2 separate regions of the Homo sapiens genome follow, and region 1 is linked to region 2. The links are contacts of gene promoters, found by promoter capture Hi-C in blood cells and fetal thymus (Javierre and others, 2016). All regions are on one chromosome and are shown on one strand. Each heading gives the region's core, a stretch centred on a gene start or on the middle of the fragment in contact. The rest is flanking DNA. Distances are from core to core; before and after follow the strand shown. Region 1 overlaps PEBP4 (phosphatidylethanolamine binding protein 4). Region 2 holds the start of PHYHIP (phytanoyl-CoA 2-hydroxylase interacting protein).

Region 1 (5,386 bases), core at 2,449-4,948, 690 kb after region 2:
ACCAGTGGCTTGCTGGGGTAAGGCAGTGCGTGCGTTTCCTGTGGCCTCACCCAACCTCTCTGGCTGGCTGCTGTTGAGCATAGCAGAGCCTACCCGCAGGTAAACCTGTCCTCCTCTCAGAGTCCACGCCTGCTGGAACACTGAGGATGCAGACCCAGGTGCCCAGCCCTGCCTTCTCTTCTGGAGTCAGATGGCAGACCTGCCTCTCGGGCAGCTACCTCTGGATGCTACAGCCTCCTCAAACTCTATGGGTTTCTGTGCAGAAGTCGGTGCCAATGGCTGCCATCCCTGTAAAAAACCCAGTGCTTCTCTGTGTCCCCTTCTTGGTGAAGGCACCGTTATTAGAGTTAACATATACCCCAGCTTGCCAGCGCCATGCCCAATGACACACATTGTCCTGGCATAACTATTAACAGCATCCCCCTTTAGTCTCAAAAGGGTCCTGTCTTAGATGAGAAATTATATACTCAACCTCATTGTTACCCACTCGCCTGCTCATCACAGAAACCCGAGGGTCATCTGGACTCTCCCTCTCCCCAATATCCCCACAGCCCCCAAGCTCTATGGGTTCCACGTCCTTAACACCTTTTAAGCCCAGCCCATGGTCCATGCCATCACCTAGGTTGCAGGGTGGGCACCTTGCCTTCAATCTTACCTTTCTTCCATTCTTCCACCTGCTGCTGGAGTGACCTTCCCAAATTGCAAATCTGATCACATTTACCAGCCTAAAAATCAAATGGTGACTCTCCTCCCCCAGCCACCAGCCAAACTTTAAGATAAACTCTAAACTCCACACCAGGGCCATGAAGTTCTTGGCTCCTAACCATGGATGTGCCCCTGCCCTACCCGCCCCGACCCCCGACCCAACCACAAGCCTCATCCCTCACCTCACCATCCTGGCTCCCATCTGTCCCTTGCTGGGTCCCGGCTCACTGACACCCTGTGTCCCCATGCTTGCCCGCTACCTGTCTATCTCCCCAGCTATACTGCAAGCTCCGTGATAGTGTCTTTCGTCTCTGAATCAATAGCACTGACATGGTGCCTGATGCAATGTGTTCAGTAATATTTACGAAGTGAGTCACCGCCCATCCCCAACACCAAATAGTCCATGGCGGCTGCAGTCCCCTGAGCCAGTGGGCCTGCACTTGACCGCCTCCACATGTAGGAGAGGAGACTCCACATGTAGTCTACTGGAAGACGTCTCTGCTCCATCCATTAGGGTCTGTTCTTCTAGAATTGCTGTGGGTGTTGGGAGCCCCGTGTCCTTCCTCGGCTAATCATTTTGTGACTGCAGCAGCCTGTATTTTTCTGCTCTGTGTATACAGAGAAGGGTTGGTAGGGGCGGTGGACCTGTGAGTTCCGAGCTCTCTTATAGAGAGGAGAGTTCCAGGCCTCTAGAAAATTTGGGTTGAAACTTGTGTCTCCACCATGGGCCAATGAGGGCGAGAAGGTGCTCCCTGGGAGGCTGCGGCTAGAGGCCTGGGCTGGCATGAAATGCACTGACCCAGGTGGATAGGGCACTCAGGGCCACCTGCTTTGTGAGGAGAAGAAATAGTGCCTGGGCCAAGCCTGATTGGAAACTCCAGGGAGAGCAGGACAGACCGAGGCAGCCTTTTGTTCCCTCCCTGTAATGCAATGCACATTCCCCACTTAAAGGCAATTTCTGCACTTCAAAAGGATTCCAGCTGGCGAAATTTAAGGTGGAGAATAAGCCCCCAGTCAAGAAGCTTCTCAGGGGCCTTTCAGTTTTCCTTGGCTTGAGAACGGGATGCATTTTTAAATGTTTGCCTCTTCATGTTTGTCAGAGCGCCAGGGGAGAAACGCTTCCTCTTACTTCCACACCTCTCTCGCTCAGCCATAGCTGGCACGGGAGCCAGCCACGTTTTCCTGTGTTACTTTGCCTTCTCATGAACCTGCCTGACTTCCTCTCTTTCTCTGCCTGCTTCCCCACCCACCCCCCAGCTCACACCCCACCCCTAGGGGGAGGAGAGAGTCCTGCTGCCCTGGGTTCACTAGGTTTAGCAGCTTTCCTTCAACAGATGCTGAAAGGGCCGACAGTTTGGCTGACACAGCTCATAGCTCACACTCCAGGAGATGCTCTCCCACATGTCATTCATTCATTCATTCATTCATGCATTCATGCATTCATGCATTCACCTGTTCACTCTCTCACCTAGTCACCCAGTCAGCCAGCATGGCATCTGAGGTGCTGGTGGGGCCCACGGGTGACTCAAAGAAAGACAACACATAGTCTTTCTCTCCTAACTTACAAAGTGCTTGAAGCTTTGAGAGACAGGAATGAGCAACTACAGCACAAGACACAGGGAAGTCAAAACCCAGTTTAGAGGGTAGGAACATTTTAAAAGCACAGAGAAAGAAAAGATCAGCCAGGGATGTAGGTGGAGCCCAGAGGGAGGCAGTCAGGGAAGGCTTCCTAGAGGAGGAAGCATTGTGACGGGAGCAGGGTCCAAAGACGCCAAGGATGGGGAAGTGGCCAATGCCAGAATATGGAGGTGGGAAGCTCTATGGTGGGCACAGAGGCACTGCTGCACCCCTCTTTCCAGGGCTTTGGAGTTTGCTGGGGGCGGGGGAGGGGGGGGTGTTCCCAGGCATGTCCAATGGCAGTCACTGCTTTGGTGGCATTGCTTCAGTCACCTTGGAAGCAATGCACCATCCCCACATAGCAGTCACCAACTCGTGCCCTTCTCCATCAGGCCCAGAAGAAATACCTTCATGCTCTTCTCTGTCCTAAACACTCAGGCTCCCCGCACCCTTTTCTTGAGGGACCCAGGTAGCACTTGCTCCTCCAGCCTCACCAGTCATGCCCTCTCCCTTAAGGGAAGCTCCAACTACCACCTTCCCTAGGAAGAACTATCCTTCCTGCCCACCCCCTTCCATTCTAACCAGGGAAAGCTTCCCTTCGGCCAGCCCACCCCTGCCTGTGCCAGCGCCCCCTGGTGTCTCCCTTAGAGCCCTTGCCAGTGGCCCACTGGCCAGGCCCATGGGCTCTGGAGTTGGGCAGACCTGGCTTTGACTCTGGCTCTGGCACCTTTCAGCTCTGTACTTGGCCAGATTACTCACTTCCATAGGACCTGCCTTGCATTTCCTACCTAACATCCTTTCACCCTTATCTGATCAATCACACCTTGACTTGCATTCAGGGCAACCATCCTCCTCTACTCTCAGTCCTTGTAGATTAAGGGGAGCTGTAGAGGGTCACTGCTAGGTTCAGGGATAGGCACAAGACCAAAGCGAGACCAATCCTGTGACTTTTAATGGATGGAAAACCCTATTTCCACTGGGGTTGACAAATTGGTCAAACACAAACCTAAGGCTGTTGGGGCCATCTTTGTCACAAGGGAAGACTCTATTTACAAATGAAAACAGCACAGAAAAAAACAATCAAGAGACAGATTCCTGGTGACACTGAGCACCTGGATCCAGCCTCGCCTGAAGTTATCCCTGGAGTTTTCAGTTTTGTGAACCAATGTTTCCCCCTCTTTTCTGGCTTAAGCCGATTTGAGTTGACTTTTTGTCACATGCCATTAATAGTCTTGATGAAAGAAATACTTAACTTGGAGACTTAAATGAAAGGTCCGAGTAGTGCCCAGGAATGGAATAAGGTGGCACTCACTGACCACTTTGGCAAATCTCTCTGAATCTGCCTTCTCATAGGTCTGTTACATTTCCATAAACTATAGTTCCATAGTAGTAGAATACTATGTTTTTCTTCTTCCCACAGCTTCGATCAAATCTTCCTTTGTAAAATCTTCACTCTCCCAGGCTTTCTTGACCACAGCTCTGTGTTCCTCATAAATCTCTATGTTCCACATCCGTTTTCTCCCCACCCCACCCCCGGGCTGAGGCAGGATGGGTTTAACAGTACAAGACTTCAGGATGTGGCGTGGGTGATGTCGTCTTTGTGTAATGTGCTGATAAGCCAGGGCAACGAAACCAAATCAAACCAAAGACTTTCCCAACAGGCTTCAAATCCCTGCTCTGGAGGACACCAGGTGCTCAGAAAAGTCTACACTGCCATCTAGTGGATGTCTGCAGCATCATCAGCACGCGGAAGGGAGCCCTTTGGGGAGAATTCCCTTGGGACTGTCCCTGGCCTGTGAAAGCATCCGACTGACCCTCACTACATAAGGGACAAACCCCAAGACAAGTGAATGGATGGTGAAGCCGAGAGTCCTGTCCCGCAGAGTAGCATATACTCCTCTAAAAGATTGGGTTCCTGCCCGGCCTCTGCACCTCCCATCCCAGGAGTTAGAATCAGCAGGCTTCCTTTCTCTGCTCCTCTTGGCTGTCCACAGGTGTGCCCAGTCCAAGGGTTTCCAGGGAAGAGGGCTGACGCTGTGTGCACATGGGTGTGCATGCAAGTGTGTGTGTGCACATGTGCACACATGTGCACGTGTGCACTTTATTGCTCGTCTTCCCAAAGGAAAGGGTGTTTGTCGTGTTTGCAAACAAGACAACCTAGCAAAGCTTCATGACAACAGCCTCATAACTTGCGAGCCATATCACAATCTATTTGCTCTCTGATAGTGAAAAACACTTCAAAGAGAAGAGTCTATTCCCCGCATTGGAGTAACTTGTGTGCTGCCGCCCTCTGGAGCTTGTTGTCCTACTGGGCTTAGCTGACTGCATGAGGCCTAACCAAGGCAGCACTGAGGGGAAGGAAGAACCCCTTGTGGCCCTTCCCTGCCACCCTGCACAGAAAGGACCAGAAGGTCAGCCTTGGTGTGTGTGCTTGGTCACATCCCGGCCACGACCCTTCCATCTCCAGGCATTTGTGACCCAAGTCCTGCCTAGATTGACAGCAGCACCTCCTTCTAAAACACAGCAGAAAAGAGGCCAGTCTCCACCATTGACACTCTGCGGGCTCAGTCTGGCCCAGGAGTCAAGAAATAAAGAAGCGGAGACCAGAAGGCCAGATCAGCTTCCCCAAAACACACTCTGGCTGCTTAGGGCAGCAGCAGACCCATTTCCCACTTCTATGACTCTTCCCCAGGCTTTCCAGACCCCTAAATGTAATAGCACTAATCACTGCCCAGTAAAATAGTTATTTCCAGTTCCTAAAATGCTTTGTTCTTCTTTTACACAACTTTGGGCAAAAGAAGAGCGTGTCTCATGTTGTGACAACAAAGCGTCAAGATGCACTGACCTCTGCCTGTTTAGGCAACTTGGGAAGCTCTGTCTTGGTAAATACCAGCTTCTCTCCAGCCCAGAAGCCATCTGAAGGCCCAGGCACCCCGCGCCTTGAGAGAGGACTCCTCCCATACCACGCCTTCTTCCACTTATCTGCCAACTCCAAAGCACACACCAGCTGGTCTCCACCAGGCTTGGGGTCCCAGATCTCAGGGGCAGCCAAGGAGCTCCCAGA
Region 2 (5,289 bases), core at 2,225-4,724:
CTGACAGGTGGCAGAGGCAGTGGGAATGCTGCAAAGCCGGGCGGGGACAGATTTGCAGCAGATGGAGCCGAGGAGGGAGGGGGCCCTCAGCCAGCAGGCGTGAAAAGAGAAAGGGGTGGGGGTGGAGAGGACGGGTGAGAGGCGGAGGAAACGCAGGAAGCACCTGCTGTGGAGCGGAGGTGCGAGGCTTGGGGCAGGTGACAGCCAAGAGCTCACAGGTGCCAGGGCCCTCGGATTCAGGCCTCTCTCCTCACTGGGGTCAGCAAGCGTTGCCGCGGTACATGGCTGGAAGGACAAGTGCCACGTTGGTGCATGTGGACACATTCGTGGTGGGAGGGGTACGCGGCACAGCCGGCTTCAAGCTCTTTTTCCACCCATAACTTTTTTTGATGATCCCTCTTTCTCTTTCGGCCAATCTTCTCTTGACTCCTTTCAATCATGACTTTTAACATTAACATCTATTAGGGGCCGGCCATGTGCTCATAATTTCACAGACGTCTCATGCAACCTTGGAAGTAGGCACACACTATCATTATCTCCATTTTACAGATGAGGCGACTGAGGTTGGGGAGGTACTAACATGCCCAAGGCCACGCAGAGAGCAAATGATTTGAACTCCGGCACCCAAGCTCTTGATCACTAAGCTAAGATAGTGTCCCCTCATGTGTGGGGGTGGAGGGGCACATGTGTGGCGTGTGTGCATGCATGGGTGCCCATGGTGTTTCCACCTGGCATTTTTCCTCCTTCCATCGTTTCCTTTCAAGCAACTGCATTTTCTCTCCCCTCCCTGTCTTACTCCTTTGGTTCTCCCCTTATGTCTGCTGCTCGTCCAGGTATGAGAGGACCTCATCACGGTCACTCTCATGTGTGCTTTAGCTGGGAAGAGCTGACTCTGGCCATGACTCTGGCCTGGCTGGCCTAGCTCCGGGATGGGGAAGAGCAAAGGGAAGGGGAGTGACAGCGTCTGGGAGGGGACAGCAGACGTGGGTGGGGCATTCTCCAGGGGCATTTGGTCTCCTGCTTTCCAATCCCTTCCTCCAGCCCAGTTCCTGGCACCCCTCATTTTTCTAAATGTCACCTCCTTCTCTTCTTTCTCCCCTCTTTTTCTCCTCCCCTTGCCCAGGAGCTAGTGGTGAGGGCATCTTGTGCCTGCAAAAGCAGGTACTTTTATTTATAGCTTCCAGAGGATCCAGCCCACACCTTCCTGTCAATTAAGCTTGCTCCAGAGCCTGGCACCTCTGTATTAACCTGTGAGTTGCCTGGATGGCAAGTACAGGGTGAAGGCTAAAGGTGATGGCCCTTACCTGCTCCAGGTGTCACTCAAGTCCTGTTTCATCTTAGCCTCCCACCCCACAGCCAAATGCCGGTGGCTTTGTGCATGGGGAATCCTATGGTAAATAAGCATGGCGGTGCTACCAGGCCCACCCCAAAATCAGGCAGATGGGATTGAGTGTCTGGAAACAACCCTACCATAATAAACCAGTTTGTAATTCATGGGGACAGGTGTGGAGCAGTGGGGAGTTACCATCTCTTGGGAACCTGGTGAGAAGCTCCCAGGGAGACACACATGTGCCCCTCACACACACACACGCACACACACACACGAACACAGACACACTCCTACCCAAGAGGCCCTGAGCGGCACCCACCCACACGCTCGGAGGCAGCCCACACTCGTCCCATGAGTAGGCACCTATTCCTGCCTCTCCTTGGAGTCCTCCTAGAAATAGGGGCAGCTGTGTTTGGCGGTAGGGGTCTCCAGGACCTGGGTGTCTGCTTGTCCCTCCCTCCCTACGGTTCTGGGAAAGCTGAGATGACATCCCCCCGCTAGCTTGGGAGGGTGGCAGTGAGTGAGCTGGGGTGGACAGAGGGGTGGGTGTGAACCCAAGTTCTCTACACCCAGAAGACTGGGGAAGGGCAGGGTGTGAGGGACAGGTTGAGGCAACACCCGAGAAACACCCACACTCCTGTGTGGATCCACCCCAAGACAGGCATGTACACACCCACACACAGGCAGGCACGCACGCGCATACACACATGCGCCAAGAGTGCCCACCCACCCGCGTCCCACACCTCCGCAGATGTCCTCACTCCCACACACCCATCTCCACATTCAGGTGCCTGCTGCCACCTTCCACATTCTAAGAATGCCCCACAGTTTTCCCTCTTCAATCTGTCACCTCCATGCACACCCAGACATGTTCATGTCCACAGGCTCACGCACACACACGTCCACGCACACCGCCTCACAAGCCATATGTGGGGAAAAGAGGATGCCACAGGCACCAACATGCATGTGTGCCACCTCCACAAGAAGGCACGCAACCCACACGCCTGCCGGCACACACATGTGTGTTCATACACACAGCAGCCCCCGCCCGAAGTCTGGTATTCTCTCTCGAATCATCTCCAGGCTCAAAGACAGACTTTGAAAATGTGTTTGCCTCTGGCCACACTCTGCCAGCCCTGAGCCTTCATGCCAACAGGTTTGTGCACCTACGTGGCTCTGCCCACAGACAATGGTTTCTGCCCCTTCTTCTCTTTACCCACTCCATCCTGCTCTGGGTCTCACCTCCCCATATAGAAAGCCCCTGTCTGCATACACTCCCACACACATGAAAAGGGACATGGTTACCCCTAAATATACTGCCTCATAGTGTCCCCACCCACGCACACCCACAGGCTACTCAAATAAGTCCCCCACACACATGTACCTCACGTGTGCCAGAAAGATATGTTTCTAGACATGCCTCACACCATTCAAAACCCACACATGAGCATGACTGCGGACAGACGGACCTATCTGCGCCAGCAAGCCTCCAGCCAACTCGCGAGCGCGCACACACACACGCCGCGCACACCGGTGCCCCTTCCCCATGCCCATTCAAACAGCCACCCTGCCACAGGGAATGCTTCCCCCACCCTGCTGTCCCTGTTGGCATCGCTGACTGCAGCAGAACGGTCACGGGGTGACTAACTGTGGTGCCCCAGAGACTGGATTCAGCCATTAACCACTTTGCCAAAGGCCTGGCCGGGGGGGGGGAGAGGGGACAAGGTCGTCAGGCCTGGCAGTCCAGGTGGGCACCCTGGGTGGTGGCAGGACCCTAGAGCCCCCAGATCCCGGCTACTCAGGATCAACAGCAGCAGGTTCCAGGGAGGAAGGGTACTCACCTGGCTCCACTGGGCTCTGCAGAGGAAAAGCTCGCAGGGAGGACAGGGAGAGACCTCTGCGTGGATGAGCTCCCCGGCAGGGGACAGCAGCCGGACGCCTGGGTCACGGGCAGTGGCGTGCGCTTGCTCCTCTCCCGGCTGCCAAGGAGGCTGCTTCCATGCCCCGCAGCCAGCTCCTGTCTGGCTGTGCAGCGCGTCGCTGCTGCCCCTGGTGAGACGATGTTCCCAGCTGAGCAGCGCAAGAAGAGAGGCAAGAGCGAAATCAAAGCAGCGTGGAGGAGAGAGAGGCAGAGAAGGGAGAAAGAACGAGAGAGCCAGACCGAATCTGCCTCCACCAATGGGATCAGCGGCTGCGCAGCGTCAGGTGATAATAAGCAGGCTTGGTCCCTGCTCGCCGGGCTGGTGGGAGGGGGAAAGGGCAGAGGGTCTCCCAGGGAGCTACACAGATGTCCTCAGGGACAGCAACACACGCCGCCTTTCCCCCATTCTTCCAGGACAAGCTGCCCTCAGAAGTCCCTCCAACACACCCCCTACTTGGAAATCTCTGACTTGAATGCAGCCCCCAAACTTTAGGATGCTGGGAGAGGGGTGGAGCTTAGCCAAGGGCTTGGGCCCCAAAGCAAAGACTCTGATTGGGGGAAGGGGAGGGAGGCTGTAGAGGGGAAAGGTCCAGATGGGGGGTGTGAAGCTGGGGTGGCTGTCTTCAGTCCGGAGCCTCTCCTTGGGGCCTTTTGGTGAACTGTGGTTCCATTTTCTTACCAACTCTAGAGAGAGATGGCAGACCTGCAGCTCAGGGATCCCTGTGGGTCTGGCAAGAACCCTCTGGCAGCTTGGGGGTCCACAGGAAAAGGGGCTGGGAGAGAGGCTGTGGCACAGTGCAGGGTGCACAGGGGTAAGAAAATGGGGGTGGGAGAACACACCAAGCTCTGAGTGTCCTCAGCCCACCCCACTCTCTGAGCACAAAGGAAGCCGGCCCTGGGCATCTTGGGGAGAGAATGTAATTCTGCTCTCACGGCAGCAGGAGGCTGTTCTGCCATCAAGAAGCAGACTCCGTGGAGGCCATCGGGAAGAACATCCAAGGAAATGTGAGTCCAGCAGCAAGCAGGGACAGAGGGTTGCGCAGTGGTGAAAAGCACAGGCTCACAGTCAGATGGATGTGCTGAGAATCCCTGCTCTACTGCTACCCAGCTGGGGGACCTTGGACAAGCCACTCAACCTCTCTTCATCTGTCAAGTGGGATCACACAGGTTTATTGTCATCATGGAATGAAATAATTAGGTAAATCGCCCAGCCCTGGGCCTGGCACATCAGAAGTGCCAGTCACATGTCAGAACTGTTCTTGTTCCCATCATATCGACAGCATCTTCCTGCAAGGAGCCCACAGTCCTCTACGGGAGAGAAGATGGCCATTTAGAGGATGCAATTAGAGAATGAGGAGCACACAACTAAATCGTAGGGCACAGATACTCATTCAGAGAAAGAACAATGGGCGGCTCCAGGGCACGTGCAGGGTGCAGGCCAGAGGAGGCTGTGGAAGCAGGAGTGCGGCTGGGGTGGGGAGGATTGGCACGGGGGCAGCTGACACCAGGCAGGCCCAGGGTGAGGTCTTGGTGAGCAGGAGAAGGTGTGAGCTGAGCCTAAGAAACACTCACCAAGAGGGAGTTGAGGCGGCAGGCCTCAGTGCAAAAGTCAGAGGAGGTAACAGCAGCAGAAAGTGAGAGTTCACAGAATGCAAAGACAAGCAGAAGCCAACCCTGCCTGAAACGGCTGTGAGAACCTCAGTGAGCCTGGCCAGGTCCTGAACTGCCGAATGTGGGGTGGTGCGTGGCACTGAGGCAGGACTAAGCACCCCCTTGGCCAAGCATGACTACGTCCTGCTCCGACATACCCACGCCGAGCTGGTGAGCTCAGAAGAGATGCAAAACGTAACCTCCTGGTGATGGCCAGCACATGACATCTGGACTACAATTCTGTCCCAGGCCGGGCGCAGTGGCTCACAAGAATCCGAACACTTTGGGAGACTGAGGCAGGCAGATCACCTGAGATCAGGAGTTCGAGACCAGCCTAGCTAACATGGCGAAACCCCATCTCTACTAAAAATATAAAAATTAGCTGGGT

What was found. The method cuts DNA at HindIII sites, captures the fragments that hold promoters and counts their contacts. A CHiCAGO score of 5 or more calls a contact.
Region 1: a fragment that was not itself captured here is called in contact with the fragment with the promoter of PHYHIP in region 2 in 2 of 17 cell types (non-activated CD4 T cells and naive CD4 T cells); the score reaches 6.1 in non-activated CD4 T cells.

What each region holds. Positions count from the first base shown.
Region 1 is chr8:22,914,537-22,919,922 of GRCh38, forward strand. The region is part of intron 3 of PEBP4 (phosphatidylethanolamine binding protein 4); the gene reads right to left. Among named protein-coding and RNA genes, the nearest start is that of PEBP4, 11 kb to the right of the region's middle. RefSeq lists an enhancer at 5,010-5,386. The HindIII fragment of the contact is 1,575 bases long and covers 2,912-4,486 here.
Region 2 is chr8:22,228,625-22,233,913 of GRCh38, forward strand. PHYHIP (phytanoyl-CoA 2-hydroxylase interacting protein) reads right to left here and starts at 3,475. Exons shown (of 5, transcript NM_014759.5): 1 at 3,172-3,475. RefSeq lists enhancers at 2,010-2,179, 3,105-3,852. The HindIII fragment of the contact is 17,584 bases long and covers 1,215-5,289 here.